4 separate regions of the Homo sapiens genome follow, and all the other regions are linked to region 1. The links are contacts of gene promoters, found by promoter capture Hi-C in blood cells and fetal thymus (Javierre and others, 2016). All regions are on one chromosome and are shown on one strand. Each heading gives the region's core, a stretch centred on a gene start or on the middle of the fragment in contact. The rest is flanking DNA. Distances are from core to core; before and after follow the strand shown.

Region 1 (7,830 bases), core at 3,232-5,731:
CTACTATCCGTAAGCAATCCCATCCTTTCTCATGCCTTCACCTGACATCTGTACATTGGTTCTATAATTTGTATTAATTGGTGCAAAAATAATTGGGTTTTTTTGCCATTATTTTTGCACCAACCTAATATCTCCAGCCCTCTCCTACATCTTGAGTTCCCGACACAAATATCCAACTTTTATAAAACATTTTTACTTTATTTTTACATTTTATTTTAGTAAACATGTAAAACATTTTTACATTTTTACTTCTTACTTTGCATCTTACAGGCAACTATTAACAGGTTCCAAACTGAACACGTCATATTCCCTCCAAATCTGGTTCTTTCTCACTAAATGCCACCATCATGCCATTACCCACACCAGAAACCTAATGTCATCCTTGATTCTTTTCTCATCCTTTCCTTCTTCTACATCATACCAATTCAACGCTAAGGTAGGTGAATTCTACCCCCATAATTTCCTTCAGATCTATCCACTTTCCTCCACCCTGGCTGCCTCTCCCATTCCTCATTTGGTCTTCTACAGAATCCCCCAGTACAGAAATAGCTATACTTTTCTCTAATCCATCTACTATACTGCAGGGAGAATACCTCAAAAGCACAGATCTGATCATGTCTCCTCCTTAATTAAAGCTTTTAATGGCTGCTGATTACCATTAGGAAAAAATCCAAACACCCTGACACTATTTACAAAATCCTCTAAATAGCCATGCCTACCTCTCCACCCTTATCCCAATTATAATCATATTGTACTTTCCGTCCCTCAAACTTGCCATATTACTGAAATCAATAATCCTAGTATGGCAGGAAATTCAGCGCAGGCAGTTTCCATTTGCATGGTTCTGATATGCACAAATTCCAGTTACTGTAGCTTAAACAACACCAGTTCCCCAACAACCTGGTTCAAATTTCAGTTACCATGGTATATTCACTAACTATAACTGCATAGTTTAAGACTTCATTGCAAGCTTCTCAGTCTACAAAACCACTGTATACATAAAAGATGTGTGTCATGATCAGTAACCAATCATGTTACTACTTTTAAAGTACGTCATTGATTGGTCACTGTGCAAGTGCCATTCAGTTCACACACAGGTAGCAAAGGATGTAATTGTGTTGCCTTCTGGTTTCCCAGTGTAAACCCATGTGATATTTTATAAAAATGGATAAATGGATGAGGGAATTTTTTAAAAAGAGAGAGATAAAGAAACACCAAAGAAACAAAAAGTGCTAACACTGAAAGCAATCTTCAAAGCTAATGTAAATAGAGTTCTAAAAATAGCTGCTGTGACAAACACCTTTTGATCAAAAAGGTGAAGATGTCCCAGAGAAAATGAGGCTAGCAAAAACCTTAATATTAAAGGAACTCAGAGATATTTCACAACATTGAAAGTCCAGGTCGGGCACAGTGGCTCACATCTGTAATCCCGGCACTTTGGGAGGCCAAAACAGGTGGATTACTTGAGCCCAGGTGTTCAAGACCAGCCTGGGCAACATAATGAAACCCTGTCTCTACAAAAAGTTAAAAAATTAGCCAGGTGTGGTGGCTCATGCCTATAGTCCCTGCTACTCAGGAGGCTAAGGTAGGAGGATAGTGACACTTGAGCCGGGGAGGTTGAGGCTGCAGTGAAGCATGATTGAGCCACTGGACTCCAGCCTGAGCAACAAAGTGGGACCCTGTCTCAAAAAAAGAAAAAAAAAATCGAAGAATAAAACATTGGAAGTTGATACAACTGGAATATGATAATTCGCCAATAAAAGATGTTCATTCTGTATCATAAGTTACGTGATGATGTGAAGGTGGCAAGCACTGCTCAAACTACTCTTGGTAAGGTTTTTACAAAGAAATAAAACACTTTAATTCTCAATGTACCTAAGGTTTTAAAATTACAGGGTACAAAATAAATTTTATTTTTACTATTTTTTTATTTCCATAAAATTTTATAACAGTAAGAGAATTTTTAATGTTTTGACAAAAGATATTAAAGGTCATGGGACAATTCTAATTTTTCTCATTGATTATATTAGGATTGCTTTGCACAATCAATTATAAAGAACAACACTATCATACAAAACAAGGACCGTGTGTATAAGAAACCCTAAACACGCAAGGGGGAAGTAAAATTTATCATGAGAACCCCTGGAATACTCCCAAGAGCTCTTTTACATATACATTTGAGGTACAAATCAAAGAAAATCTTTCCTGCAATAATAGTGGTATTGACTAAAATTATACCAACTTGAAAATTAATGAGTATTACTAGGCCTTGGAAAACAAGCTAGAGTAGCATACACATATTAGAAATCATTCCCCAATGGTGTTATTTGACACCGAGAGACAAGAGGTTCTCTAATGAAAGAAGAGAAAGGTGCAGATTGTACAGTCACGGGAACTACAAAATTATCAAAAGGAGCAGACCCTTCCTTGCATGGAAAGAAACTTCCTTCAGTTTTTAGGTATTGGTCTGTTTTGGCATCTCCATTTTCAGAACGTTTAAAGGACATTCTCCAGTAAAGGACAAGAAGCAGGAATAAAAGAAAAGATAACTATCAAAGTCAGTAAATGCATTTGTATAATGCCAGTAGAAGCTAAAGGAGGAAAGATTTTTACAAAGTACGGTTGGTCAAAAAAGCGAAATACTTCAAAAAGTCAAAGCAGATAAGAACTGAGAAAAGCTCATCGTGTTTAGTAATTATTAAGTACTTTTAAGAGAATCAGAACAGAAATAGGTAATTAAGAACAGAAATAAATAAATAAATAAATGGTAAGGAAATCCGTGTGGGAGCTTTACATATTTTTACTCATGATAAAATCATCCTCATAAAGCCACACTCCCCTTAGTTATACAGAACTAAGATAGGCAAGAAAATTTCATAAAAGGAGCAAAATTCAAGCTGAGAACCTAGAATAATTTTCATAACTTTACTATATTCAAGCATCTAGAAGAAAGGGGTAATTTATTTTTCAGTTTTGTACTCCCTTAGTTATCTCTGTAACTCAGTGCCTTGTACACAGTCAAGAAGTATTTCCTTGTACTCCTTAGGGTCCAAATTAATTAAGTTAATTTCCAGTACAAATGCTGTGCCAGAGAAAAGAGGAGTTTATTATACTTACCAGGGAAAGTACTATCTTCTGGATTAATTGAAGCACTAATGCTTCTTTTCAAGAGGTGATAAACATTTGCTGCTGTGAAGTCTGAAAAAGAAAAGATAGACTAACTCAAAGGGCTCTAGATTTACATAATCTAACTTAGTCCAATTTCACCATCAGAGACTCTCAAGACCAGTAGGTTGTACATAAAAGTACTAAACGCTGCTCAAGATCTGTTCAAGTTTTGATACAGAAAATCTAAAGCAATCAGAGAAAATAGAAAAGGCTCCCGATCTGTACATGCCAGTCAGTTAGCACGAATGCAAAATTCCCCTCAAAAGAATAATTTTAAAGAGAAGGGAAATTCTGTGACAATACCTTATACACAACCACATACATTTACTCCTCAAAATGCCTGTTTGATCGAAACAAATGAACACATAAAATGCAATATTGAATCTAGACGGGTGCACCAAAAAGCAGTGCAATCGCAAACAATTAAAATCATTTAAAATTCATCATTTGTTTTTAAAACTTAGGTTATATGTGGGATGTCTCCTCCCATTAGATGTAAATTGTAGGACAGCAAGATCTTTGTCCATCTTGCTCCTTTCCGTATTATTTGCATGTGAAACACAGGAGCAGAAATAATAAATGCATATATTTCCAAAAAGCAGGAAATTCCATTACTAAGGCATAGAAAATTTATTAAGTTAAACATTTACTATGCCAAGAACTTCTAAGGGCTGGAATCTTGCATCCACAAATTTGTCCCTGTTTTTCCATGAAGATGCTATTTTTGCAGCCCTCATTAACTCTATCCCAGATAGAGTCCCAGCTTCGTGGGACAACTACATATTGATCCCTCTTCAGCAGAACTTGATCACAAAACTCAAACTTCTTCCCCTCTCCACAAGCCGTTCCCGCTCTTTCTCATCCCAGCGCTTACCCGGCTGATTCTCAGTACCCTCACCCGACGACACCTCTGGCCCATGTTCTGCCTCCCTACTGGCCGCCGACGGGAATTTTCCTTCCCCCCAGATCACCAGCAGCAGGTACCGATCCATCTCCTCAGAGATCACCCCCCAACTTTAGGTCTCGGCTTCCACATCCAAACAGACGCGCGCTATGACGCATTTCCGGTTCCCTTCGTTTAGGTCGGCTGGAAATTATGTCCTCCGTCGGTTTTCCGCAGTTTTTCCACCAAGCGAGATATTTTTGGGAGTTATTCCCTAAATAACTGCATTATATGCTCCTTTCATGACGAAATTGCTGCCGTGGAGAAGACTGGAGGAAACTCGAGGAAGAGGGAGAAGCCGACAAGTGCTCGACGGGCTAGGAACTGTCCTGCTTGGGTGTTAGCGTTTCCCGCCGGGCCAGTAAGGCTGAGTGACCCGGCGTGGCTACTAGGAGAAGGACGTACGGTCCTGCTAGTAGAGGAATATGTCGAGTTTCTCTAGGGCGCCCCAGGTGAGCTCGGACTCTTATGGCTTGATGGGGTTCATTATACTGGCAGAAGGAGAGCGTTGGTTCCGGCAGATTAAGTAGTGAAGCTGGGGCGGCAGGGAAGCCGAGACCCTCGGCCAAGAGGTGACTTGGGAAAGCACAAGAGGGTCGTCAGTCTGGCAAGCACTTAATGTCGTTCGTCTGTTACTCGTCCCCTCTTCTTTTCAATCTGCCCTTTTCATGTCTTTCTTGGGGGGGCGGGGGGAAGAGGATTAGAGCAGATCGGAGAGGTAATAAGGTGGATCACATAGGGCATTGTAGGCCCTTGCAATAATTTGTTTTTTGACTGAGTAAAATGGGGACCTTTTGGAGGGTTTTGATCCACGGAGTAACAGGATCTGACCTGGTGTCAAAAGGAGCACTCTGGCTGCTGGGTCGAGAATAGACTGTTCAGAAATAGGGGTTAGTAGAGGACAGAAGCAAAGAATATGTTTGGAGGGTGTTACAGTAATCCAGGCGAGACGTGATGGTGCAGAGGCCACGCTAGAAATACTATGGAGTGTGTTGAAAGTGGTCAGGTTTTGTTTGAAGGTGGAGCCAGTAGGACTTCCTGAATATTGAGTATAGGCCAACAGCAAAAGAAGAAACAAGGATTACCCCAAGGTTTTTTGGTTTGTCCAACTGGAGGGTGTGTCATCAACTGAGATAGGGAAGGCTGAGATTGAACCAGGTTTCAGGTGGAAGAATAGGAGTTAGTTTGGGTTATATCGGTCTAAGATGACTCTCAACTCAGTGCCGCTCCAAGTATGGTTCCTTCCTTGGGCTGTTTGTTGCCTGTCTGTGATGAGATAAATACAGGAAGTAAAATAAAAATTTTAAAACCTTTTTCAGCAATCTGACATCGCCCAGCATTTGTATTTTTTTCATTAAAAATTTTTTTTTTCTAAGTATCAAACTATTAGTCTACAATGGATGGGGACAAAAACTGGCCTTTTTCTTATATGTAGACTAGTTTGAGGTTGTGATAAGTAAATTTAAAATAAGACCAGCTAGCCTCGTTCTATTTTTCCAGCATTGTTTAGCCTCTTGTGTATATGCATAGAGAAAGCATCTGGTGGAGATCTTTCTGGCCTAGAATTTTCTAAGAATTTGAATACATTGATGACGACTGTAAAAACAATGCTCTATTCCTGAGGCAACCTAAAGATACCTATTTCAGGCAACTTTTTAAAGTTGAAATTTATTCCACATCACCCATCTGTACTTTCCCAACTACATTGTTCTATTTAACTCTCCCCAGGAATTGAACTCCTGAATCGTCTTCAGTTTCCAGTTGGCCACTCAGCTTTCAATATAATGTACCTAATAATCTCTAAATGTTTTTGAAGACCTTCATAAACAGCTTCTACTTTCTTACAAGCTTCTCATTGCCCCTCCAGATTCTATTATGTGTTATACAAAAAAAAAAAAAAAAGTCATACCGTAAAGGGAAATATATCTTTGGGATATTTATAACAAAACGTAAGTCATATTGCTAACAGGAAACCAGGAAGGAATAATTACTGTGTTTGTCTTTGCAGAATGATTAGAAAAAACAACCCTTTTCCAGAAATAGAAATGAAAACAAAAATTCTTTAGCAATAGAGTTATTTTTCAAAGAAATTGTTGACATTAATTGTAGAAACGTGATGATATATGATAATAAATTTAATTACTGTATTTCCATTTTAATGATAATTATCTTTATTTTTTCCTCTTCTTTTTTTTTTTTTTCCCCCCCAAGCAATGGGCCACTTTTGCTAGAATATGGTATCTCTTAGATGGGAAAATGCAGCCACCTGGCAAACTTGCTGCTATGGCATCTATAAGACTTCAGGGATTACATAAACCTGTGTACCATGCACTGAGTAAGTATTATTTTAGACCTGTCATTAACCACTGTAGTTTTCATGCCAGAATAGAATCTTGATGAAGTTTAACAGGGCTGAGTTTAAGGGCCCTTTTTATTTTTCCTGAGGATCCTGTATTCCATTCTTGCTGAAACCATACTAGCGCCCAAAACTGAATTTGGCTTATTCACTGGAAAACCGTATGGATCAGTTTACCCGGAACAAGCCTATTTTATGCCACTGCCCAGCGAAATTATTAGTAGCCCTTCTTTTCACACTCAGAAATAACCTGATTTGCCCCATGACTTAAACTTTCACTTTTATATATGTCTTTTCACGTGATGACATCCATATAAAGAGTTTTTAAGGGAAATAATTTTGCCCTCTCTTCTAAAAAATCTTTTCCCCTAGAAAAATATATGGTGCTAGCTAGGTATGGGAAGCTTATTTTCACTAATAAGACTAATAGACTTGCTTTTCTGTATCCTTTTTCCAAAATAAAATTAAAAAGTTGTTTTCGTTCTAGAAGATTTCTGCTTACAGATAGTTTTTGATAGACTTCATTTACCCCAGCACTTCATGGCCAGATCCAGATGTCAGTTTTTAGTCCTCATACTGGTTGACTTGTCAACAGCATTTGCTGCAATTGATCACATTTTTATTTAGCTTTTATTGTGCAATATATTAAACATACAAATATGTATATATAAAAATATGTGATATTTTAAAGAAAATTAACCATAACAATTATAATGGTGAAATGAATATACTCAGCATTGGTTTGTTTCCAATTTTTTTGGCATTATGTTATATTACATTAATGTTGCTATCAATATTCTTGTGCCATTTTCTTAGCACACATGGAAGAATTTTTCCAAGGTATGCCCAAAAGACAGGAATTACTGGGTTTTAAGGTGCATAGCAACTATTGAGTCTTTATCATGCCAGTAGCATGCAAGAGTTTCCATTACTCCTCATCTTCAATAACACTTGATATGTTCGTTCTTTTTAGTTTTGACTATTCTGGTAGAAATAAAATGCTTGCTTTGTGATTTCAATTTGCATTTTCTCGATGACAAATATGGCTGGCTGAGTATCTTACCACTTATTGGCCTTTACAGCTTCCTGTCCTGTGAAATGTCTGTGCATGTCTTTTGTCAATTCTTCACTGAGTTGTTTGTCCTTTGCTTTTTTCTTACTTTTATTACAAAAGGTTTCAAACTATCAGAAAAGGTCAAAGAATAGTACAATGAATTTCTTTATACTCTCCACCTAAATACAGTTAACATTTTATCATATATTTTTTATTCAACCATTTGAAAATAAGCTGCAGATGCCATTATAATTCCCCCAAAGTACTTCAGCATGCATCTCCTAAAAATAAAGATACTCTCTATGTAAC
Region 2 (7,830 bases), core at 1,019-3,518, 810 kb after region 1:
TACCCAAATCTGATTTGCTGTCACATGATATAGGATGTAGTATTTGCCACTAGAAAGTTCTGATGTAGGAAAAAGGAATGGAAGTAAAAAAGGCAGTGAGCTATCTTTATGAAACTTCAGAAATTTAGGACTTTAAGATTTACTTAAAATTGGAAAAACATAAAAGAGAGGAGGTGTTTAAAGAGTTTTCAGGATTGATTTGTCCTCATTGTGTGTCCTTATGGCAAAGGAAAGGTAAGTTTTAATAGTGTACCTTGACTTAAATAATAGAACCAAAGTGAAAGAGTTTCTTTTTACAATACACTACACCATAAGTAGTGTTCCCATACAGTGTTCTTATAAAGGAGCTCCTTGTGCAGACAGAGGGGGCTTAACTGACCAGGTCTTAAGCAATGAGTTGGTTAATTTCCTGGAAATTGGAGCTGCTGATGGTTTTAGAAATAAAAAATTACATTTTAAGTAATGGGCACTCTAGGGAACAATATTTTCTGGACTTTTCCTGACATTCCAGCATGTTTGTCTGTCTTCCTGTGAATTTTGTGTTTCTCTGTATGTCTTGATCTGATTGTTATGAAAGACCATCACTTGCCTCTGTTTAGCCAGCTTGAAATTTTATTATCAACCGGGTTAGGACACATACATTGATGGAATACTAAATCTTCCTTACATCAATTAAGTTACTTTTGAATCATGCCAGTAGGTTGAAAGAATAATATTAGAAGTGAATTAGTGAATTGAAGTGGGGTGTGGCGGGGTTAAGAGTGAGAAAATAGATCACAAAACTTGCAGCCCCAGGGAGCCAAATGGACAAAATGAGTCGTCTTCTGTTGGGGAGGCAGAGGACAGTGGATCACTGAGCTAGAGAATGCTGTTTTTATTTGCAGCAAATGCTCTCTTCAAAGGCCTCTTTTTCACTCCCATTAACACTGACTGTGACTGAACAGACAGGGGAATCAGATCCTTAGCATGGTCATGTGGGAAAGCTAGCAACTTGAGAGCCAACTGCTGGTTCTTTTCAATGAACACTAAAGGGAACTTTTTTTTTCTGTTTCCTCTTAATATATTACTCTGGCTAAAACTGAGATTGAAAGAATTAAATGCTGTTTCCTTAATGAATGTAAAATTGAGTCACTCATTATTTTTAAAGGTGACTTCTTTTGGAAAACAGTCATTAAAATCCTAGGCTGGTACCCTGGAGTCCTGTAACTTGCTGTGTGGTGTTGGGCAAGTCACTTGTGAAGTCTGTTTCCTTAGCTGTACAATGAGGAGCAGACTTAGATGATTTCTACTTTTCTTTCTGGATTAAAAAAAAAAAATCCCAGGAATTATTCTGTTTCATTGCCTCTTGAATTTCTGTGCTCACTACTGGAAAACTTGAAAAGTATAGATTGGATTTATTAGTCTTTGAAAATATTTTGTGTATAGTAAATTATTTCCATGTTATAAGAATAGCTATATGAACTAATGAATAAATGCCACTTCTAGAAAAGTAGTATGGTCTATATTATAATTTATAAACCTAAATGGTCTTAAGTGGGCTACACGAATTTGCTCCTTGAATTATTTAATTAAGTCGTTGGTTATTTTAGGCCTTTATGATATCATCTAAAATAATTTATTAAACTTCTAACCACGTGAAGCTTAGTCTTAGAATACAATGCAACCTAACTCTGAATTTTATGGTTTGGATATGCCTGAATAATTTTTCTTTTGATGTAGCTTATGTGCTTTTTAGGAACTGTGGTTGATTTCTCCTGAATAAAAATCAAGGATGTACTTAGTAAACTAGGTAAAAGCATCCTGTAGACAGTGGAAATATCTTTATGCGTTTAAATGCTGCATATGCTTAGAAAGGATCTCTCTCGATTGACACATGTGACTGGTTATTCTGACCATTAGAAAAGCCTTCCCATCAGAAAATACTGGGTGAATTTTATAAGCCTGTAAGAATAAGACACTAGGTGGGGAGGAGGCAGCCATGCCTATTTCCAACAACATTTTTAGGCGCCAAAGAAATCCTGGGAAGCTCAGTGCTCCAAGGGTGCAACAAATAGAAGGAACACAAAGGGTATTGATATATGGCTAGCTTCGGATTGATCAGAGTGAGATCCACCATTCAAAAGCATGCAGTTGTTTAGTAACCATAGCTTCTCAGAGTCCTCAACAATAGCTGAGAATGTTCTGTACACATGGATGCCCTCGCTGCTGTACTATGGACTGGGGTGTTAGTTTCAAGGTTGTGGCAGTGCAAACAGACTGTCATAATTAATTAACTAACACACTTGTTACCTGGATTTATTGTTAGCGTAGGAAATAATGGCTGAACAGGATTTTTTATACCAGGTCATAAAAGATTTATAGATTTATTAGGAGATATGAAATGAGAAAAGCTACTTATAATTCTGTTGGGTAAATACAATGGGCATTCAGGTTAATGAGACGGTGAGATGGGTGGAATAAATTTTCTAAGAAAATATAAGCCATAACTGTGATTTAGTTTGACATCTTTTTCTCATATGTCTGATGTGGCCCACTTGATTTGCCTTTAAGACTGCAAGAGACTTTATATGTCTACAGGTGTCTGTGCACTCATGTGCACTTGCAGTGTGTATGTTTGTGGTGTTATGCAGGAGTCTATTTTATTGAAACTTGTGATTTAGAAACTGTCTCCAGGTGGAAATAGAATATCCTCTTTGATATGTAAGTAATTTAATTCTTAAAAGACAAAAGGAAATTTGTGAGCTTGTGAATAGCTGGCTAACAGAGACTTAAAAGCTCAGTTTAATTCATCATTGTTTTTAGTGGCTTGAAAGGAAAGTTGAAAAGTATGTGAATGAAATTCATAGGTTCATATGAAATGTAGACTGTCACTAACAACTTTATGGATAAAGCTTTTCTTTGAGAATCATAGGGAAATCAGAAAATGGAACTAGAAGTGAGAAGGTTTATGTTCATTTGATAATTTTAGAAATTTTGCTCTGCAATGAAAAGCTATTTAAATGTTGGCATGGGAGAATGCAGGAAACTGTAAAGGGGACGTAGATCAGCCATTTGCTCTGTGAGCAAAACTCGGTCATTAGGATTATCCTGTCATGGGGCTTTATGTGAAATTTCAGGTAGAAATTGGGGAGTTTGAGTCAATGGAATGAAATTATCTGAACTGGAAGCTAAGGAGGGTACAGATTTTTCAGTTCTTTGTTAAATGGGGCTGTAGTGTAGTGATTTTTCATCTATCTGAAAACTGTAGAGACTCCTCTATCTAGTTTACATACTCAGAAATCTCAGTCTTCCATGAACTTCAGCCTAGATTTTTGAATCAATAAAATCAGCAAATCTTCCCCAAAATTATATTTTGAAAAGAACTTCTAAAATTTGAAAACTATGTACAAAAGTTTGAAAAACCTTTCATTAATGAAAAAAATACTGTAGTTACAGTGAGATGATCTAAAATTTTATCCAGGCCTTGGCTAACTCATACAAGGCCTAGAGATCTAATTTTCCAACCAGGAAAATGGGGATAAAGTCGCTTTTATTTATCTGAAAAAGTTTTTGAAAATGCCTTTAAGGCTGATGAGAACTATAAGGTGTTAAGTATATGATAATTCATTTAATTAATCTTCAATTAGGTTTGAAGGCCAGTGTTTAAACTTATACCTTATTGAGTTAACAATACCTTTAATTTTAAATGACAACATTTTATTGTTTGGTAGCAGATGTGCAAATCATTCAGATTTATGCTACTGATGGCCATTAAATTCTATTTAAGTGGTTTAGATGTTGAAGTAAAGTTTTTAACTTTTAACTTCAATTACGTAGAAATCTTTTTTTTTCCTTCTAGTTTGTGAGCTCTATATGAGGACATTGTGTGTATGTATGTATGTATGTATGTATGTATGTATGTATGTATTTATTTTTTGAGAGAGAGTCTCATTCTGTCACCCAGACTGGAGTGCAGTGGCGTGATCTCAGCTAACTGCAACCTCCACCTCCCAGGTTCAAGTGATTCTCCTGCCTCAGCCTCCCGAGTAGCTGAGATTACAGGCGCCCACCACCGCGCCAGGCTAATTTTTGTATTTTTAGTAGAGATGAGGTTTCACCATGTTAGCCAGGCTGCTCTCGAACTCCTGACCTCAGGTGATCCACTCGCCTCAGCCTCCCAAATTGCTAGGATTACAGGCATGAGTCACCGAGGCAGGTCAGACCATTGTGTTTATAAATGTTTTGAAAGCACAGGTGTTTAAAAACTTCCCAGGTGGACCTCTTTATTAAAAAAAAAAAAGTTTATGAAATCTGGCCTAGCAGCTGTGAAGAGGAGAGAACAGTGATGTTGCAGTAATGGATATTTATAAAAAGTTATGTATTTAGGAAGCAAAGATACTGACATGTAGACCTGTGTGTAAGTTCTATTTACTAAAAAATGAGGTCAGAAGCATCAATAAAAAATGGCAAATTCAATACGAAAAAAGTATGACCAGAAAGAACGAACCATATACTCCAGAAGAGGCATAATACAGTATTAACTCTAGAGCTGGGCAGCATCTTGAATGCCACGCACACTGTCCTCTGCCTTGCCCTGTGGGTTATGCTTCAAACAGGGCAGCAGACATAAGGGAACTTGTCCTGTTTTAACGCTCTTGAGAAAAGGAGCTGGTATAACCACAGCTGGTAACACATTTTAAGGTTTTGCTCTCACTTTCAGGAAATACCTGGGCTAAGAACCAAGGAGAATGGGAGGAACAGATAGAGAGCAGTATCATAAACAGGAGCAGACAAAGCTTAGAAGAACCTTCCCCCTTTAGGCTAAGCTAAATGTTTCCAAACTTAAATACTGCCTCTTCTATTGGCCATCATCCAGATTTGAGTATTTGCATCTTTACGGGGGACATTTAGAGGGAAATATGATTGGGAGCCTTAGATCAAGTAATGTTTTGGCCATAACTTTTGTCATCGGTTAGGCTCCTTCCAAAAATTTAAATCATCAATAGTTTTGTTGTATCTTATGGAACAGATGGCACTAGAATTCTTTTGTTGTTGTTGTTTTTTGAGATGGAGTTTCGCTCTTGTTGCCCAGGCTGGAGTGCAATGGCATGATCTCGGCTCACTGCAACCTCCACCTCAAGCAATTCTCTTGCCTCAGCCCTAGCTGAGATTACAGGTGTGCACCCCCATGCCTGGCTAATTTTGTATTTTTAGTAAAGATGGGTTTTCTCCATGTTTGTCAGGCTGGTCTTGAACTCCCAACCTCAGGTGATCGGCCCACCTTGGCCTCCCAAAGTCTTGGGATTACAGGCGTGAGCCACCGTGCCCGGCCGGCACTAGAATTCTACAACCCTACCTCTCTATACATATTGTAAGATGGAATATTTTAGACATAAAGTTGACTTAAGTAAAAGTAATTGTACCTGTTTCTGTCAGAATTATGAATTTGAATGAAATAACGTATGTTTTACATTGGTGTTTCTTTAAATCATGAAATTATGCTTCTGTGAAAAATAAGAAATGCATTGCATTGTTGTTATACATGTCATATATGTACCTATGTGTATTTTAAAATTTGAGGTTTCTATTTTTTAAAAGAACACTATATAAAGCTATGAACATTTGTTTTTCAAGATTCTGGAACTGACTTGCATCTTTGAAGTAAAATAACATCATTTGAATATGTATTTTAAAAGGCGGCAATAGAATTTGAATCTCATAAAGGTATTAGCAAATGCCTCATAAGAAATTTCAAGCCTCCATCATACTTATCACATATTTCTGCCTTGATACATTTGGAGAGTACTTTTTGTTTGTTTTAGTTGTTTTCTGCGCTGTTACGGCCATCTCAGTAATGATGAAAAATTTGGGATACCACAAGTTTGTTGATGTTTCAGTTTTCATCCCGCCTCTCAATAAGTTACACATCTGAAGTGCTTACATCAATGTTCTCTTGATTTAGGTCAAGTAAAGGAAGACAACAGATTTTAAAACTCAGACTTCTAACAAATCGGATAATCTTTCCCTATTTGACATTACGTCAGGTACAATAAAGAGAGAAGTCCTAAAAACTTCAAATGCATGCAGGAACAAAGGACTGAGGGATGAGCAGAATGTTCAGATAAATGGCTTGGGCGAGCCTGGAAATGACATTTAACATCGTTCTCCTTCTGCTTCTTGATTTTTCTTGATTTTAAACATCTTAGGCTGGGTGTAGGGAGAAGGACAGGGAACGTGAAGACTCCAAGTATACTGACTTGATTTTTATCAACTACATGAATGTATTATCACCCCAAAACTATGTACCTCTATTATTCATCCATAAAAAATGATTAAAAAAAGAATATGAAGGTGGATTGCAGAACTCCTAGGAAAACAGTTGGGACTAGAGCTTGTCGTGAAAGAAGATGGCTGGGACGGAATAGACCCTGGAAAGGCAGAGTGAATATTCCACTCTATTGTTCTATTTTATTTATTTGTTAATTTAATCATTTTGTTTATTTTTTTTGTACACTCATCAAGATGGTCTTTTCCATTGCACACAGGAGTGTGTGGCATTACTGAGTGTCATCATACACTCACTGTATTTTATTTAAAAGAGATAGACTGGGCGTGGTGGCTCACGCCTGTAATCCCAGCACTTTGGAAGGCCAAGGTGGGCGGATCACAATGTCAGGAGATCGAGACCATCCTGGCTAACACGGTGAAACCCGGTCTGTACTAAAAATACAAAAAATTAGCCGGGCATGGTGGTGGGCACCTGTAGTCCCAGCTACTCAGGAGGCTGAGGCAGGAGAATGGTGTGAACCCAGAAGACAGAGCTTGTAGTGAGCCAAGATTGCGCCACTGCACTCCAGCCTGGGTGACAGAGCAAGACTCCGTCTCAAAAAAAAAAAAAAAAAAAAAAAAAAAAAAGATAGCAGCATGGCTGGGCGCAGTGGCTCACACCTGTAATCCCAGCACTTTGGGAGGCCAAGGCAGGCGGATCACGAGGTCAGGAGTTCAAGACCAGCCTGACCAACATGGTGAAACCCCGTCTCTACCAAAAATACAAAAAATTAGCCGGGCATAGTGGCGGGTGCCTGTTATTCCAGCTACTCGGGAGGCTGAGGCAGGAGAATCACTTGAACCCAGGAGGCGGGGGTTGCAGTGAGCCGAGATCGCACCATTACACTCCAGCCTGGGTGACAAGAGCAAAACTCCGTCTCAGAAAAGAAAAAAAAGAAAAAAAAAAAGAGATAGCAGCTCAAATTTATTTGGGTTATTGGTTTATAAGAGGTTCTATATGGCTCAAACTACCTTCCCTTTTTCTTTCCTGTCATTCTCAGCTGAATTCAAATCATCCGAGAATGAATTTTGACATAGGTATATCCTAATCCACCCAGCCCCAGGAGTATACCCTAATTTGAAGCTGTCAATAACTTGATCTTAAGTACAGTACTTCTTTTGAGATACATCTTGGCATTATGAGTGTAAGGCTAACTCTAACAAAGTTGTCTTTAGTTTTGCTTGTCTTTAGGTTTGGCAAGAACTGTAACTGATAGGGACCGACTATTAAGTGAGATTCAATTATTTTCCAAAAACAAAGCAAAGGACAAATTTAGAGAATGATTAATGTTGTAAGAAAATAGTAAAAATCAGGTGAATGAGTGAAGAAAGATTAAATGTGGCTAAAAATTCACACAGATACTCTGAAAGTAAAGAAAGAAATAGGCCGGATGTGGTGGCTTAAGCCTGTAACCCCAGCACTTTGGAAGGCCAAAGTAGGTGGATCACCTGAGGTCAGGAGTTAAAGACCAGCCTGACCAACATGGTGAAACCCTGTCTCTACTAAAAATACGAAAATTGCTG
Region 3 (7,830 bases), core at 1,666-4,165, 640 kb after region 1:
GAGGATGTGGTCCATGGTGTTTGTGTATTTCATCTTGTATTCTTGCCCTTCCCATTCCGTATCTTTTTCCTGTCTTTCATTTCTTTCGTATTTTTTTAAACTAATTTCAGTGAGGAAATGTAATATGTGTATATGTACACATATAAGTTGCTTTTATGGAGTACAATTTAAAAACCAGTTGAGAACAACATTTTCACGTTTCTGTAAGACTTCATCGTATTGTTTTCATCAAATGGGAAATAAGGTCAGATAACTATGGAACAAATATTTATGTAGTAGTCTCTCCTGACATAGTGAATATAACGGTGAGCCTGCTGAAAATTCTCTGCTTCATTAAGCTTACATTATGATGCACTAATGGGTGGAGGTAGGTGCTATTACATTTTGAGGAACTGAGTCCCATCCTGATTTGTTTTAAACATCTTAATTTTTGTCAAATTATAAAGCTTGTTGAATCCATTCAATTTTTTGCCACATTGATAGGGAATAATTATTTATTCAGTGCTTCACGTATTCTTTACATTTGTATCAAAAAAGGATAGTGGCTTTGGCATTCCAAAATTAATGAAGAATGTGATAGTCATAATAATAGTCATGTAACTTGGTGAGTAGAATATATATTCTGTTGTATTCATAGATTAATAGTTTTTAACATGGTGAGTAGAGCAAACCATTACTTGGCTAAAGAGTGTTCTTAGAAATTATATAAGAAGATAAAATGCTTACAAATAATTGGTATCAAATGATATTTAAGAAAATGCTCAGAGGCCAGGCATGGTGGCTCATGCCTGTAATCCCAGCACTTTGGGAGGCCAAGGTGAATGGATCACTAGAGGTTAGGAGTTCGAGACCAGCCTGACCAACATGGTGAAACACCATCTCTACTAAAAATATAAAAATTAGCTGGTTGTGGTGGTGGGTGCCTGTAATCCTAGCTACTCGGGAGGCTGAGGGATGAGAATGCTTGAACCTGGAGGTGGAGGTTGCAGTGAGTTGAGATGGTGCCACTGACCTCTGGCCTGGGCAACAGAGTGAGACTTCATCTAAAAAAAAAAAAAAAAAAAGAAAGAAAGAAAAATGCTTGGTAAGATACATGGCTTATTATTAAAAGTTGGCTCTTTTTTTTCCCCAGGAGAAACCTCAATTATTTTTCCAATGCTTATGCAGCTGCAGTTAGTGCTGTGGACCCTGATGCAGGAAATGGAGAACTTTGCATTAAGGTTCCATCAGAGCTATGGAAACACGTTGATGGTAAAGCACCAAGAGTATATTGACTGTACACTAAAATCACGTTAGATTCAGACACTAGAGAATTTTACATGAGAACTAATGATGCAGGCACTGTGCCTCATGCCTGTAATCCCAGCACTTTGGGAGGCTGAGGCGGGTGGATCACCTAAGATCAGGAGTTCAAGACCAGCCTGGCCAACATGGCGAAACCCCATCTCTACTAAAAATACAAAAATTATCCAGGCTTGGTGGGCGCATGTAATCCCAGCTACTCAGGAGGCTGAGGCAGGAGAATTGCTTGAACCCAGGAGGTGGAGATTGCAGTGAGCTGAGATCGCACCCCTGCACTCCAACCTGTGCAACAGAGTGAGACTCCGTCTTAAAAAAAAAAAAAGAAAAACAAAAACAAAACGAAAGAACATTAACGATGTCAAAATTGTAAATTAACCAGTTGAAATATATAGAATGGGTTGGAAGCTCTTTTTCTTATTAAGGATCACTGGCTAACAGGATGATACCATTTCAGGGCTGTGAAAAAAGCAATTTATTTCACCGTTGTTTTTTAAAGCTAAAAAAAAAATTTTTTTTTGTTTTTTTTGAGACGGAGTTTCGCTCTTGTTGCCCAGGGTGGAGTGCAATGGCGCAATCTTGGCTCACTGCAACCTCTGCCTCCCGAGTTCAAGGAATTCTTCTGCCGCAGCCACCGAGTAGCTAGGATTCCAGTCTCCTGCCACCACGCCTGGCTGATTTTTGTATTTTTAGTAGAGACAGGGTTTCATCATGTTGGCCAGGCTGCTCTCGAACTCCTGACCTCAGGTGATCCACCCTCCTTGGCCTCCCAAAGTGCTGGGATTACAGGCGTGAGCCACTGCGCCTGGCCATGAAAAATATTTTTAAAAAATCATATAGGTAGAACCTGCACAATATCAAATTAGTTTAGAATTGTAGCATTTTGTAGCAGGAAAGATCCTGAAAAAATCTGGTTAAATTCCTTCTTTTTACAGAAGAGTAATCTGAAGTCTAATGAGAGTGAGTGACCTGCTGAACTTCACTTAGCAAATTATTGGTGAAGTTAAAGCTAAAACACATGGTTCCTGATACTCAGTCTGCAGACTTTTTAAACCTTCTTTGTGTCTTGTATAAAGTTTTAGCCATTGTAATATTGTATATTAGCTTCTGCCTTGCTTATTTAGCCTTATAAAAATTAATCAAGGAAGTAAAAGAGTCCTTGTTTTGTTTATTGGTTTCCGTTGTGGGTGCTGGGGACGGGGTAGGGTTTGTGGAGGAACTTACCCTAATTTAGGGGACAGACGTGGAAGTCGTCATTGCATTTTTAGGGTTTGGAGATAGTGCATATGATTGTAATTCTTGGAGGGAAATTAAAATCTTATGAAAGCAACACAGTTTATAGTGAAGAAATCAAGCATAACAAAAAACGTGATAATAATGCAAATTCTCCGGTGGTGTTCCCTACTCTACCTCTCATCCTTGTACTCCCCAAAGTCACCCAGGGTTAAGTTTGTGGGATAATATAATAAGAGAAAGAACTTGAAAAGTAAGTGTATTAGTCCGTTTTCATGCTGCTGATAAAGACATACCTGAGACTAGGAAGAAAAAGAGGTTTAATGAACTTATAGTTTGACATGGCTGGGGAGACCTCACAATCTTGGCAGAAGGCAAGGAAGAGCAAGTCATGTCTTATGCAGATGGCTGCCAGCAAAAAGAGAGAGAGAGAGCTTGTGCAGGGCAACTCCCATTTTGAAAACCATCAGATCTTGTGACACTTATTCACTATCACAAGAACAGCAAGGGAAAGACTTGCCCCTGTGATTCAGTTACCTCCTACCAGGTCCCTCCCATACCACATGGGAGTTATGGGCGCTGCAAGATGAGATTTGGGTGGGGACACAGAGCCAAACTATATCAGTAAGTTTGGGGTTGGATTTGGAAGGCCTAAGTGTGCAGTGTGGGAGTTTTGGACTTTTTAGGCATTGTACATTGTCAGAAATGTTGAGAGGAGGATATGGCGTAACCAAAGGTGTATTTTGGGAAAATAATACAAGCAATAGTTATAATTGATTGGAGGTAGAAAACCAATAGGGGCAGCCTGTTGAGTTAATATAGGCAGACATATGGTAAAAGTCTAAACTAGGGTAAGTAGTGTGGTTTTTCATATAAATCTCAGTCCTCAATTCCATTTCATGTTCAGCATTAAATCTTTGTCTTTATTATATAGACCACTGTAACTTATGTATCAATGTGTGTATATGTTTATTTGTTGCAGAGTTAAAGGTCCTGAAGATACACATCAATTTTTCTTTGGATCAGCCCAAAGGAGGTCTTCATTTTGTGGTACCCAGTGTAGAGGGAAGTATGGCAGAGAGAGGTGCTCATGTTTTCTCTTGTGGGTATCAAAATTCTACAAGGTAGATTATAGATTCTTAAATATTTCAATTAATTTTTAAATTGCATTTTTTATGTATAAGCAAGACATACATTTGGTGTAAAACAAGAAATACTAGTTTTATTCCCTTCCAAATTTAGACTTCTTTCAAATTACTTTCTGTTAGTCATTCCTCTTAAAAAAAAATTTTTTTTTCTTTTTTTTTTTTCAGACAGTCTTGCTCTGTCACCCTTGTTGGAATACACTGGGGTGCTATCTCTGCTCACTGCAACCTGTGCCTCCTGGGTTCAAGTGATTCTCATGCCTCAGCCTCCCAAGTAGCTGGTATTACAGGCATTCACCACTACACCTGCCTAATTTTTTATATTTTTAGTACAGATGGGGTTTTACCATGTTGGCCAGAATGGCCTTTAATTCCTGACCTCAAGTGATCTGCCTGCCTCAGCCTCCCAAAGTACTGGGATTACAGGCATGAGCCACCATGCCCGACCCCTCCTCAATCTTACATCTCCCTTCTTCTCTCTCATTTTCATGTCTACTGTTCTAAAATAATCATCTCACTTGATTCCTTCTTTTTTAAAAACTTTATATTGAAGTAAAACATACATACAGAAAATTGCACAGAATGTAAAGCTCGATGAATTTTCACAAGTGAACAAGCCTACATAATTTACATCTAGAGACAAAGAATATTACAAGATTATAGAGACCTCCTCTCACCTGCTTTCATACTCTACTTCCCCACTCCACATTCTACTACTCAACTCTGCTTATTTATTTATTTTTTTTGAAACAGAGTCTCACTCTGTTGTCCAGGCTGGAGTGCAGTGGCATAATCTTGGCTCACTGCAATCCCCACCTCCTGGGTTCCAGTGATTCTCCTACCTATCCTCCTAAGTAGCTGGGACTACAGGCATGTGCCACCACACCTGGCTAATTATTTTATTTTTAGTAGAGATCAGGTTTCGTCATATCTTTAGTAGAGATAGCCTGTTGCACCAGCTGGAGTGCAGTGGCGCAATCTCGGCTCATGCAATCTCGGCTCATGCAACCTCCACCTTCCAGGTTCAAGTGATCCTCCTGCCTCAGCCTCTGGAGTAGCTGGGATTACAGGCAGATGCCACATGCCTGGCCAATTTTTGTATTATTAGTAGAGACAGGGTTTCACCATGTTGGCCAGGCTGGTTTCCAACTCCTGACCTCAGGTAATCCACCTGCCTCAGCCTCCCATAGTGCTGGGATTACAGGTGTCAGCCACTGCGCCCAGCCTGTCCTCAGATTATTATAATAACTTCTCTAAACCAGGGATAATGTCTTACACACTTTTGTGCTTCAATACTAAGTACCTACCCTGTCACGTAACACCTTACTGAACTGATGAAAGCTGACTATAAATTTTATATCTAACTTAACCAGCACTCAGTTTGAATTTATACAATACGTTACATACTCCAAAAAAGCAGTTTTATAATTTAATGGAATAAATTCTGAATGTTAGTTATGCTTTATAAAACTTTTTGCTGTGAGCCTTTTTTAGTTTCTAGAAATGAATGCTGCATAAAAACTGACTAATATGCGGATACAAGTTAAAATTATTTTTTAAAACACTGAAAGCTAAGAATTGCTTAACTCTTTTTAGGGTTTGAACTGATGGTACCACATAATATATTTTCTTAATATTGCCAAATAGTATTTGGAAACAGATTTTATTTTATCAGATTTTTTTCAGGTTGTACAGTAAAAAGCTTCAGTAGCCAAATAGCTAAAGGTTTTGTTTGTTCATTTTCTAGAAATGCTAAAATAACTTGCATGTGGGGAAAACAATGTAGAGAACTCTTTGAATACATTTTCTATACTGTCAATCTTTTTTCTAGATTTTGGTTCCCTTGTGTTGATTCATACTCTGAATTGTGTACATGGAAATTAGAATTTACAGTAGATGCTGCAATGGTTGCTGTTTCTAATGGCGATTTGGTGGAGACAGTGTATACTCATGATATGAGGAAGAAAACTTTCCATTATATGCTTACCATTCCTACAGCAGCGTCAAATATCTCCTTGGCCATTGGACCATTTGAAATACTGGTAGATCCATACATGCATGAGGTAAGTCAGAGCTTTCCTCTCTTACTCTCCTCCTGGCCCTTTACTGCTTTTAAAAAGATAGATATTGGCAAGGCACGGTGGCTCATGCCTGTAATCCCAGCACTTTGGGAGGCCAAGGTGGGCGGATCACAGGGTCAGGAGATCGAGACCATCCTGGCTAACACAGTAAAACCCTGTCATTACTAAAAATACAAAAAATTAGCCAGGCGTGGTGGTGGGCGCCTGTAGTCCCAGCTACTCGGGAGGCTGAGGCAGGAGAATGGCTTGAACCCAGGAGGCAGAGCTTGCAGTGAGCTGAGATTGTGCCACTGCACTCCAGCCTTGATGACAGAGCGACATCTCAAAAAAAAAAAAAAAAGGTAGATATTAATGAAATATTGTCTTCCTTCACTCTTTTTTCAACTATCAAGAATATGACTAGAGAGAAAATGTTTCCTTATCTAATATATATAATGATGTGAATTCTTGAATGAATTTCTTTCAAAATGTTGTATTTAAATTTCAGATTATTTTCCAACAGAGTCTTAGCATTTCAAAAGAGCTTCAGTTATATCTTGATTTAGCATATAGGTAGATTTCTGTAACTAATTTTGTTCATTACTAATGACATCTTTTCATTTATCATGTTTTTGAATGTTGTGGTCCCATCTCTGGAATCTAAAATATTGTAAATTCAAAATTAAAGAGCAAGATTTATTCTCTCTTCAACCTATACAGAGGAAAACAGACAGAGTTAGAAACCTGGTTAGCAAACTCATGAAGACTTCTAGTTTCTTCCCAGCACATATCTTATCACAATTCATTTATCAATTGACAGGCCAAATCACAGTTTTAGGCCTCCCCAAGCATGAGACTTCTGCTGATTAGAAAATGATTTATTAGTTGTTAACTCTCTTTTTTCGTCTTCAATTTAGGTTTATTTTTTAAAAAAGAAATACATAAGCATATAATTTGACCACGTATATCTCCACAGCATTTCTTTTAGTCATGTGAATAAAAATTGAGGGCAGCAGGCTTTCGGTGAGCTCCTCAGTTTGCCTTTTATATTTGCCTTGCTGAAATTCACAGGATTTGTAAAATCACTCGTGGAAAAGATTCAGGATATTTTGTGTTGGTTTTGCTTACGTTGTCTTAACAATGACTCTTTTTAAAGGTTTATCCACTGATAAGATTAGCAGTGAACTTTATTGTCTTTGGTAAATGATCAGCTTTAAACATGCTACCTGACTTCAAACTATACTACAAGGCTACAGTAACCAAAACAGCATGGTACTGGTACCAAAACAGAGATATAGACCAATGGAACAGAACAGAGGCCTCAGAAATAATACCACACATCTACAACCATCTGATCTTTGACAAACCTGATAAAAACAAGAAATGGGGAAAGGATTCCCTATTTAATAAATGGTGCTGGGAAAACTGGCTAGCCATATGTAGAAAGCTGAAACTGGATCCCTTCCTTACACCTTATACAAAAGTTAATTCAAGATGGATTAAAGACTTAAATGTTAGACCTAAAACTATAAAAACCCTAGAAGAAAACCTAGGCAATACCATTCGGGACATAGGCATGGGCAAGGACTTCTTATCTAAAACACCAAAAGCAATGGCAACAAAAGCCAAAATTGACAAATGGGATCTAATTAAACTAAAGAGTTTCTGCACAGCAAAAGAAACTACCATCAGAGTGAACAGGCAACCTACAGAATTGGAAAAATTTTTGCAATCTACTCATCTGACAAAGGGCTAATATGCAGAATCTACAAAGAAGTCAAATTTACAAGAAAAAAACAACCCCATCAAAAAATGGGCGAAGGATATGAACAGACACTTCTCAAAAGAAGACATTTATGCAGCCAACAGACACATGAAAAAATGCTCATCATCACTGGCCATCAGAGAAATGCAAATCAAAACCACAATGAGATACCATCTCACACCAGTTAGAATGGCGATCAGTAAAAAGTCAGGAAACAACAGGTGCTGGAGAGGATGTGGAGAAATAGGAACACTTTTACACTGTTGGTGGGACTGTAAACTAGTTCAACCATCGTGGAAGACAGTGTGGCAATTCCTCAAGGATCTAG
Region 4 (7,830 bases), core at 3,006-5,505, 530 kb before region 1:
TTTACCATGTCAACTCCAGGGACTACGTTATTAAACACTAGCTTACCCTGCCCTCAATAAAACTGAGGATGTGGGAAATATATTCTCTCTTCCCTGTCTGCCCAAGGAAGAACTTTGTAGTAAGGAAATAGGTGGAAAGTCATGCAGACATTTCATTTTCAGAGCTCCATTCTGGCCAGGAACGCTTAGTCCTCTATCTGGGCATGCCCTCTCTATGGAAAGCATTTGTCCAACATGGAATGGAAAGACAGCATGCAGCCTTTAGAGTCTGAAAGATTTCAGAGCTCTTCCTCTTGTGTGCTCTTGGACAAATCCATTTCCCCATCTATCAAATGATGAAGATGGATCTTTTTCATAAAGTTATTCAGTGAATTAAAATGGAAAATGTCTATTGTCTTAAACTGATGCATTGGGAAGTTTTATGTTTTGCTTTTTAAAAAATTTAATTATATTTTATGTTATTTATTTATTTATTTTTGAGGTAGAGTTTTACTCTGTCACCCAGGCTGGAGTGCAATGGCGCAGTCTTGGCTCACTGTAACCTCTGCTTCCTGGGTTCAAGTAATTTTCCTGCCTCAACCTCCCAAGTAGCTGGGATTACAGATGCCTGCCACCACACCTAGCTAATTTTTGTATTTTTAGTAGAGATAGGGTTTCACCATGTTGGTCAGGCTGGTCTCAAACTCCTGAACTCAGTGATCCATCTGCCTTGGCTTCCCAAAGTGCTGGGATTACAGGTGTGAGCCACTGCACCTGTCCTATTTTATGTTTTAGAGATAGTGTCTGATCTCTGTCACCCAGGCTGGAGTGCAGTGGCATGATCATAGCTCACTGTAACCTCAAACTCCTGGGCTCAAGCAGTCCTCCAGCCTCAGCCTCCCGAGCAGCTAGGACTACAGGCATATGACACCACGCCAAGCTAATTTTCTTATTTTTTGTAGAGACCAGGTCTTGCTCTGTTGCCCATGCTGGTCTTGAACTCCTGGCCTCAAGCAATCCTCCCATCTTGGCCTCCCGAAGTGCTGAGATTACACCTGTGAGCCACTGCACTGGGCCATGCTTTTGTTTTTTAACCACAGTGGAGCATAACCTATGTTGTCCGACATATATTCCTTTGAGATGTCTCTTAACCCTCACAATAGTCCTGGGATGTATTTCAGAGAGGTGATTAACTTACAGATTAACAGTGTTTAAATTAAAGTTTCTCAAACCCTCATCCGCTGCACAAAACTGCTCTAAATTCCTTTCCTCGTTCCTCCTTATGTGACCTTGCCTAAACCATTTGGAAGAACACTCAAGTATTTTGTTTCCTTTTAAATTTCGAATGCATACTAAATTTAAAAGGAGAAAGCAGCTACATTCCTGCTTCCTTCCTTCTGGATCTCATCCTGATCCTTCTCAATAATTCATAGCTAAATAATTATAGTTACCACTTAAGCATCACCTTATTGGTGACACATCTTAATATGCAATCATTTTTGCCCAAAACCTTTCTGTTCCTTTTATTACCCTCTTCACAATTTGCCGTCATTACCCACCCAATTTTACAAATTGGTAACCTCAGAGTCAACTATGGTTCTTTACTTCCCTTCAACCCATAAAGTCACTGTTTCAAGACAGATTCTGAGTTTAGCCCACTGTCTCAAAACCTTCCTACTGCAGGTAGTTCTTGCAATCTGGATTTTTAGCCATTCAGTTGCGTGTGGCATCTTCTCACCTAGTCCCTCTGTTTCCTTCTCTCCTCTCTCCTCTCATCTCCACTACCTTTAAAAGAAAATCCAAACTTCTTAAATGGCCAATAAGGCCTGTCACTCTCTAGACCTACCTTTCCAAGTGCCTCACATCTCTTTTCACACCCTATACTTCTGCTGCTGTGACATTATCTCCATTCATTTCGTGATTCTTTGTGCAAGCTGGGGTTTTTTGTTGTTATTATTCTCCTCCCAACCCTACCCATCTGACAATCTCCTACACATCCTTCAAAATGCTGTTAAATGTAACTTCCTATGAGAAAGCTTTTTTCCCCATTCCCTGCAGCCCAACTGGTTAATTTCTACTGAGTTCCCACAGCACTTAAGATATTAAATTGTGATATCTATTACTAATAAATCAAATTGCTGATTTCTGATTGCTGCCACTTCTCAAGAGTAAAAGTTGCCTCATCTTTTTCTGTGTATTCCCAGCGCTCAGCACTATACCTGGCATATACAGCTGTTGTGGGGATTAGAAAAGATATTAGAAAGAAGATACAAAATGAATAAATGAATGGAGTTTTTAGAAATCCAACCCAAAGTATTGCATTTGAGGGGATAAGCTGCAATATACAAACGTAAAAGCTGCAAAGGAGAATGAGAATCTGATCTGGAGAAAGAACATTGAACTGAGATTCCATATACCTGGGATATTGCTCCATCCATGGCACTCACTAGCCACAAGGCTCTAAAGGTGTAATTTTACCCGTCAGCACTTTTAGACTTAATGATCTGTGACAACAGATCTTACTCTAAGATACTATAAACCTTGACAGAAAACAAAAGCTAACCAGTGACCTAAGTCTTTCTCTGTGTATTGAATGAGTTAATTCAGATGCTAGTGAAGTTTTATCATATACATATATCTTTCCTAACTGAGGCTGGGAGGAACTAGCCCCAGTAATTCTAAGCAACAGTTTTAAAGACATAAGAAAAAAGAATATTGGCTCAGAAACAAAATACAAAGGACACTCTCTGGTTGTGAAATAAGCCACATGAAGTAAGAGGAAATGCTTTTTTTATGAGAAGATCCAAGCTAACCTCTTCAAAAAAAAAAAAAAAAAAAAAAAAAAAAAAAAAAAAAACTATCATTATATCCAGACAAATTAAAAGTCCATTCCAATGCAAAGCAGTTTCATTTAAGGCAAGTCAAATAGTGCAAAGGTCTTGCTGAGTTGGACCTAGAAGCTCCACACTTAAAATAGAGAGGCATTTTAACTTTTCATGTATGGTTTTACTCTTGCCAGTTACCAATTTTTTGTTAATTGCCTTTGGTTGTCCTTCCTGCCCGATGCTGGAAAATTTTCTTGGAATGGAAGAACAGTGGTGCTGGAGGTAAGAATCTTGTCTGTGCTGTCAGTGTTAGGGACAGCCAGGAACAATACAAGTCAAATTTCATGTGAATGCAGGAACCACCGTCAGGCTGGCTTCGCCAAGACCAGAATGTAATCTGGGGAACACACATTTTGCTTGGCAACATCTCTTATAACCACGTAAACTGTTTGTATCTTCAGTGGCCCAAGCTCGTTAACTCATACTCTACTATCCACTGTTAGCATGACTCAGTTATATCCCATGCCCTTTTTCTGTGTGATTTTCAAATCCTGCAAACCAGTATGTTGTCTCATATCCCTGGATCAGATATTTTCAAGAGAGAGTATCAGAACACACCACTGTTGTGTAAATCAGAGCATTGATACAAGGCTACCAAGTAGGTTGCTGGCCAGCCTACAGATTGCTCACACTTAGTTAGGGCTCCACCCTGGTTCTATCATCTTTGGCCAGAGTAGAATGGTCAAATGAATCAACGTTGATATTTACAAAAGAAATCCCTTGGAAGAATATTTTGGGTGAGGCCAGCACTTGGAGATTAGGCCTGTCCGGGACAGAATCACAAGGCCCATTATGATAACTGGGGTAACTTTCCTTATTTTTAAACTGAAAGAAGCCACAGCAACTCCAGATACCTCTGAACATATCTTCAGTATCAGCAGTCACTTGAATGACCCACTTTGTTGTATTGACATAAGGCCACTTTTCAATGAGCTTTCTGCATCAGTCAGCTGTGTTGCTTAAGTTTCTGTTATTAGTTGGCTAAGTTATGCTGTAGTAACAATGGTCCCCACAATCTTAGTGGCTTACAAAGAGTTACTGCTCTCTCATGTGTGTCCATTGTGATTGATTCTGGTTCTGCTCCACATTGTCTCTACCTTGGGACCTACGCTGGCTAAAAAGTCTCTGTCTCTGAAGGGTGACTATACATCTCAGTTTATCCAACACTGTCCTAGTTTATGCCTATTGTTCCAGAGCAATTATTAATAAATAGCATATATTTTCACTCAGTAGTGTAATCTCTTGTTTTAAACATTCCTAGTTTAGACGATAAACCATATGTCATCTTTTCTATGAGATGTCAGTGATTTCATGGCAAAGAAGAAAGAAATGGCAAAAACACAAACTGGCTGTTAGAAGTCTCTGCTCAAAAATGATTCAAATCACTTCTGCCCACATTTCATTGGCTAAACCAAGTCAAATATGTACTTCTGAGTCCAGTGGAGTAAGAAAGTATAATTGCTCCACAGAGTGGCAGCAAATATTCTGAACCAAATACAACCTACTACACACCAAATGACAGCAAACTTAAAGAGAAAATAAAGTGATGTAAGTGGTTTGCCCAAACTGTGTATGCAAAATAGGTGAAGAGGTAGAGTTAGAGGCACTGTAATTCAGGGGCTTTATACAATGTTATTCAGTCTTGTCCAAGGCTTTCAATTTATTAAATGCAGAAAAACCCTGAATCCTAAGGAGGGGAAGTAACTTGCCCAAGATTTTAAAAGTCCATGGACCAGTCCATGACCTATTAATATGGGAGTTTCAGAGTATGATGGAAGGAAAAGAAGTTAAGTGATAGTGTCATCCTATATGTCTAAATATGAAGCAATCCCAAGTTACTCAATTTGCATAGCATTAAGATAGTTGTTAAAAACGGTGTGGTACACACATAGTAAATGAGAGAGTGCCCATAGCATGAGAAACATTGTAAGAACTTGAACATAATGCAATAAATGGGTTATTCTTTTATGAAAAATAATTTCAGAGAAAGTCCTCAGCTTATATTCAGACATTTATGGCACATGAGTCTTACCTCCTACTTGGCACTAGGTAACCTGACAACCTCCCTGCGCTTCAGGGCCCAGCTGCTGTGGTTCTCAACCCTGATGCCTGGTTGCCATCCCCAAAGATTCTGATCCAGTTTTTGGGAGAAGAGGTGTAGGGAATCAGTATTATGTAAAAAGCTCCCGGGTTATTCTAATTTATATCCAGGATTGAAAACCACTAATGTAGGATTTTTTATAGTAGCCCATGGACCATAATAAGACTCATAATAATAAGAGAACTTATTTTTGGTCTAGGCACTCTTATAAGGAGATTCAAATGTCATATTTTAAGAATGGAATACTGTGTCACCCCAAATATATATGTTGAATTCTTAACCCCCAATGTGATAGTATTTCAAGATGAGGCCTTAAGTTATTAGGATTACATGAGGTCAGCGGGGTAGGATCTTCATGTTGAGATAATTGGCCTTATAAGGAGAAATTTCAGAGACCTAGCATTCTCTTTTTTTTCTTTTTGGAGACAGGGTCTCACTCTCTCTCTCAGACTAGAGTGCAGTGGTGTGATCTCGGCTCACTGCAACCTCCACCTCCCAGGTTCAAATGATTCACCTGCTTCAGCCTTCCAAGTATCTGGGATTACAGGTGCACGCCACTACCACCCAGCTAAGTTTTTTATTTTTAGTACCTACAGGGTTTCACCGTGTTGGCCAGGCTGGTCTTGAACTCCTGACCTTAAATGATCCACCTGCCTCAGCCTCCCAAAGTGCTGGAATTACAGGTGTGAGCCACCACACCTGGCCCATTCTCCTTTTTTCCCTCCCTCTCTCTCCTCCCCTTCCACTTTTATCTCCCTCTCCCCTTTCTTCTCTTTCAGTCCCCCTCCTTCCTTTTTCTGTCTCCTTTCCCTTCCCTTCATACACATACATAAAGAAGTCACATGACATCTGAGCACACAGTGAAAGGGCAGCCACCTACAAACCAAGAGAAGAGGGCTCAGAATAAAGCCCACCTTGCCAGCACTTTGATCTTGGACTTCGCAGCCTCCAGAACTGTAAGAAACATTTCTGTTGTTTAAGCCACACAGTCTATGGTGTTTTATTATGGCAGTCTGAGCAGACTAATACACCATTTTTCTTCAGAATGACCTGGGTCCTATTTATCACTGCAAGCACCTCCACCCCCAAACACACACACACACACACACACACACACACACACACACACACACACCTGGTTGGTTTGTTTCATTTGTTTGCTTGTGATGCATTTTTCTATGCAAGGTAACAATTTAACATATAAACTAGGCATTTTTGAAATTAAGAGGGAATACTATTTCTTCCAAAGAGAGGAAAGAGTCTTTGGTGTTTCTAGTTTGAAGATTCAATGTCTTTCTAATGAGTGCAAGGCTAGAGGTTAAGAAACATTTGGTCTAGTGCTGGTTCTGCTACATAACTGGCCATTGAACATTGGGTGGATCACTTTACCTCCCTGGATATCACTTTCTGTATTATAAAGGAGAGAATCAAACAGATGTTTTTATAAGGTCCTTTTTTCCAGTTTAGGAATCACACAACCATCCATAAGGCAGTAGTTCTAGCCCACTTTTTTAAATGAATTAAGCTTCCTAAAAATGCCAAGATCCATGACTCTTCTCTCCAACTACAAACAAATTGGTTTAATTGGCCCAGGGCAGGTAAGGCCACTTTAATGGTATTTTTAAAAAAGCTATCCAGGGTATTCAAATAATCAGCCAATATTTAAAAGTATTGAGCTACTTTACAAGTTTTTGCCAATAAGGATACAGACTCAGGTGAAGTCATTTGTCCAAAATCACATAGCTTGTAAGTGACAAAGCCAGGACACAAACCTTGGTTGTCTAGCTACAAAACTCCTTCCACTACAGATGGTACAGGAGCTCTTGGAGCTGCCTGAGCCTCCTGAAAGAGCTTTTGCTTCTCATATTTGAAAGTTGACTTGGCTGAGTAATCAGTCACACTCATCTGTCAGCTGCTATAGGCATAAGAGGATGAAACTGTGGTTATTGTAGAATGAAAGAAGGGACCATTCTTCCATTTATATCCAGTAGAATATACTGGTTCTCCATATCTGGGTGTTAAAAAGGAGAATATGATGCACAGAGACTAATTGTGGATTACAAATATGAATGTTTGTAGATTTCTCCGGCTTTCATTTCCACATAGAACTATTTTCTGGTATACTACTACATTGGCATTTGATTAATGTTACATTTTTGGCTTGTTCTTCAGTTGTAGCAACACACAGATTTCTGTCTACATGTACTATTCACTGTCATCTGAACTTCCCACTCAATGCAGCTGATAATTACATGTTCTGGAAGCTGTGTGTCACAACCAATTAACTTGACAGGCTCCACTGATTTGGGTAAAAATGGAGGCTGTACAAATCTGTTTTGTGGTATCTCAGTATAGAGAAGCAATTAAGTGAAAGGAATACAATAAAATAACACTGACTTAAACCTAGGCACATGAGAAGTGATTAGAAAGATTGAGCTTTGGAGCCAAAGAGACTGAAGTTCAAATCCCAATTCTGCCACTTACTAGTTGAATGGTCTTGCTAAGTTACTTAGCCTTACTTACATTTTTAACTGTATATCTACCAAAAAGTACGCCTAAAATACGTATTCTTATTTAATATTAGGTTGCTACACCAACCTAAATTACTTTTGCACTAACCTAATAAAATAATAATTTAAAAAGAAATAGGCCACAGTGGCTCACACCTGTAATCCCAGCACTCTGGGAGGCCAAGGCAGGCAGATCACTTGCCATCAGGAGTTTGAGACCATTCTGGCCAACACAGTGAAACCCTGTCTCTACTAAAAATACAAAAAAAAAAAAAAAAAAAAAAAAGGAAAGAAAAAAAATGAGCCAGGCATGGTCTTGCACTCCTGTAGTCCCAGCTGCTCAGGAGTGCAAGAC

The links. The method cuts DNA at HindIII sites, captures the fragments that hold promoters and counts their contacts. A CHiCAGO score of 5 or more calls a contact.
Region 2: a contact is called between a fragment that was not itself captured here and the fragment with the promoter of MRPL13 in region 1, in 2 of 17 cell types (fetal thymus and naive CD4 T cells). The highest score is 6.2, in fetal thymus.
Region 3: a fragment that was not itself captured here is called in contact with the fragment with the promoter of MRPL13 in region 1 in 1 of 17 cell types (total CD4 T cells); the score reaches 5.3 in total CD4 T cells.
Region 4: a contact is called between a fragment that was not itself captured here and the fragment with the promoter of MRPL13 in region 1, in 4 of 17 cell types (total B cells, naive CD4 T cells, total CD4 T cells and 1 more). The highest score is 5.6, in total B cells.

The regions. Positions count from the first base shown.
Region 1 is chr8:120,441,801-120,449,630 of GRCh38, reverse strand. MRPL13 (mitochondrial ribosomal protein L13) reads left to right here and starts at 4,481. Exons shown (of 7, transcript NM_014078.6): 1 at 4,481-4,563; 2 at 6,323-6,446. The coding sequence starts at 4,537. It overlaps MTBP (MDM2 binding protein), which reads right to left and starts at 4,212. Exons shown (of 22, transcript NM_022045.5): 1 at 4,043-4,212; 2 at 3,118-3,198. The coding sequence starts at 4,160. RefSeq lists an enhancer at 4,574-4,753. The HindIII fragment of the contact is 4,989 bases long and covers 973-5,961 here.
Region 2 is chr8:119,630,269-119,638,098 of GRCh38, reverse strand. The region is part of intron 2 of ENPP2 (ectonucleotide pyrophosphatase/phosphodiesterase 2); the gene reads left to right. Among named protein-coding and RNA genes, the nearest start is that of ENPP2, 4.7 kb to the left of the region's middle. The HindIII fragment of the contact is 1,251 bases long and covers 1,643-2,893 here.
Region 3 is chr8:119,799,704-119,807,533 of GRCh38, reverse strand. It overlaps TAF2 (TATA-box binding protein associated factor 2), which reads left to right. Exons shown (of 26, transcript NM_003184.4): 4 at 1,133-1,251; 5 at 3,515-3,656; 6 at 5,509-5,740. Among named protein-coding and RNA genes, the nearest start is that of TAF2, 29 kb to the left of the region's middle. The HindIII fragment of the contact is 4,933 bases long and covers 449-5,381 here.
Region 4 is chr8:120,972,152-120,979,981 of GRCh38, reverse strand. No RefSeq gene overlaps it. Among named protein-coding and RNA genes, the nearest start is that of SNTB1, 160 kb to the right of the region's middle. The HindIII fragment of the contact is 4,475 bases long and covers 2,018-6,492 here.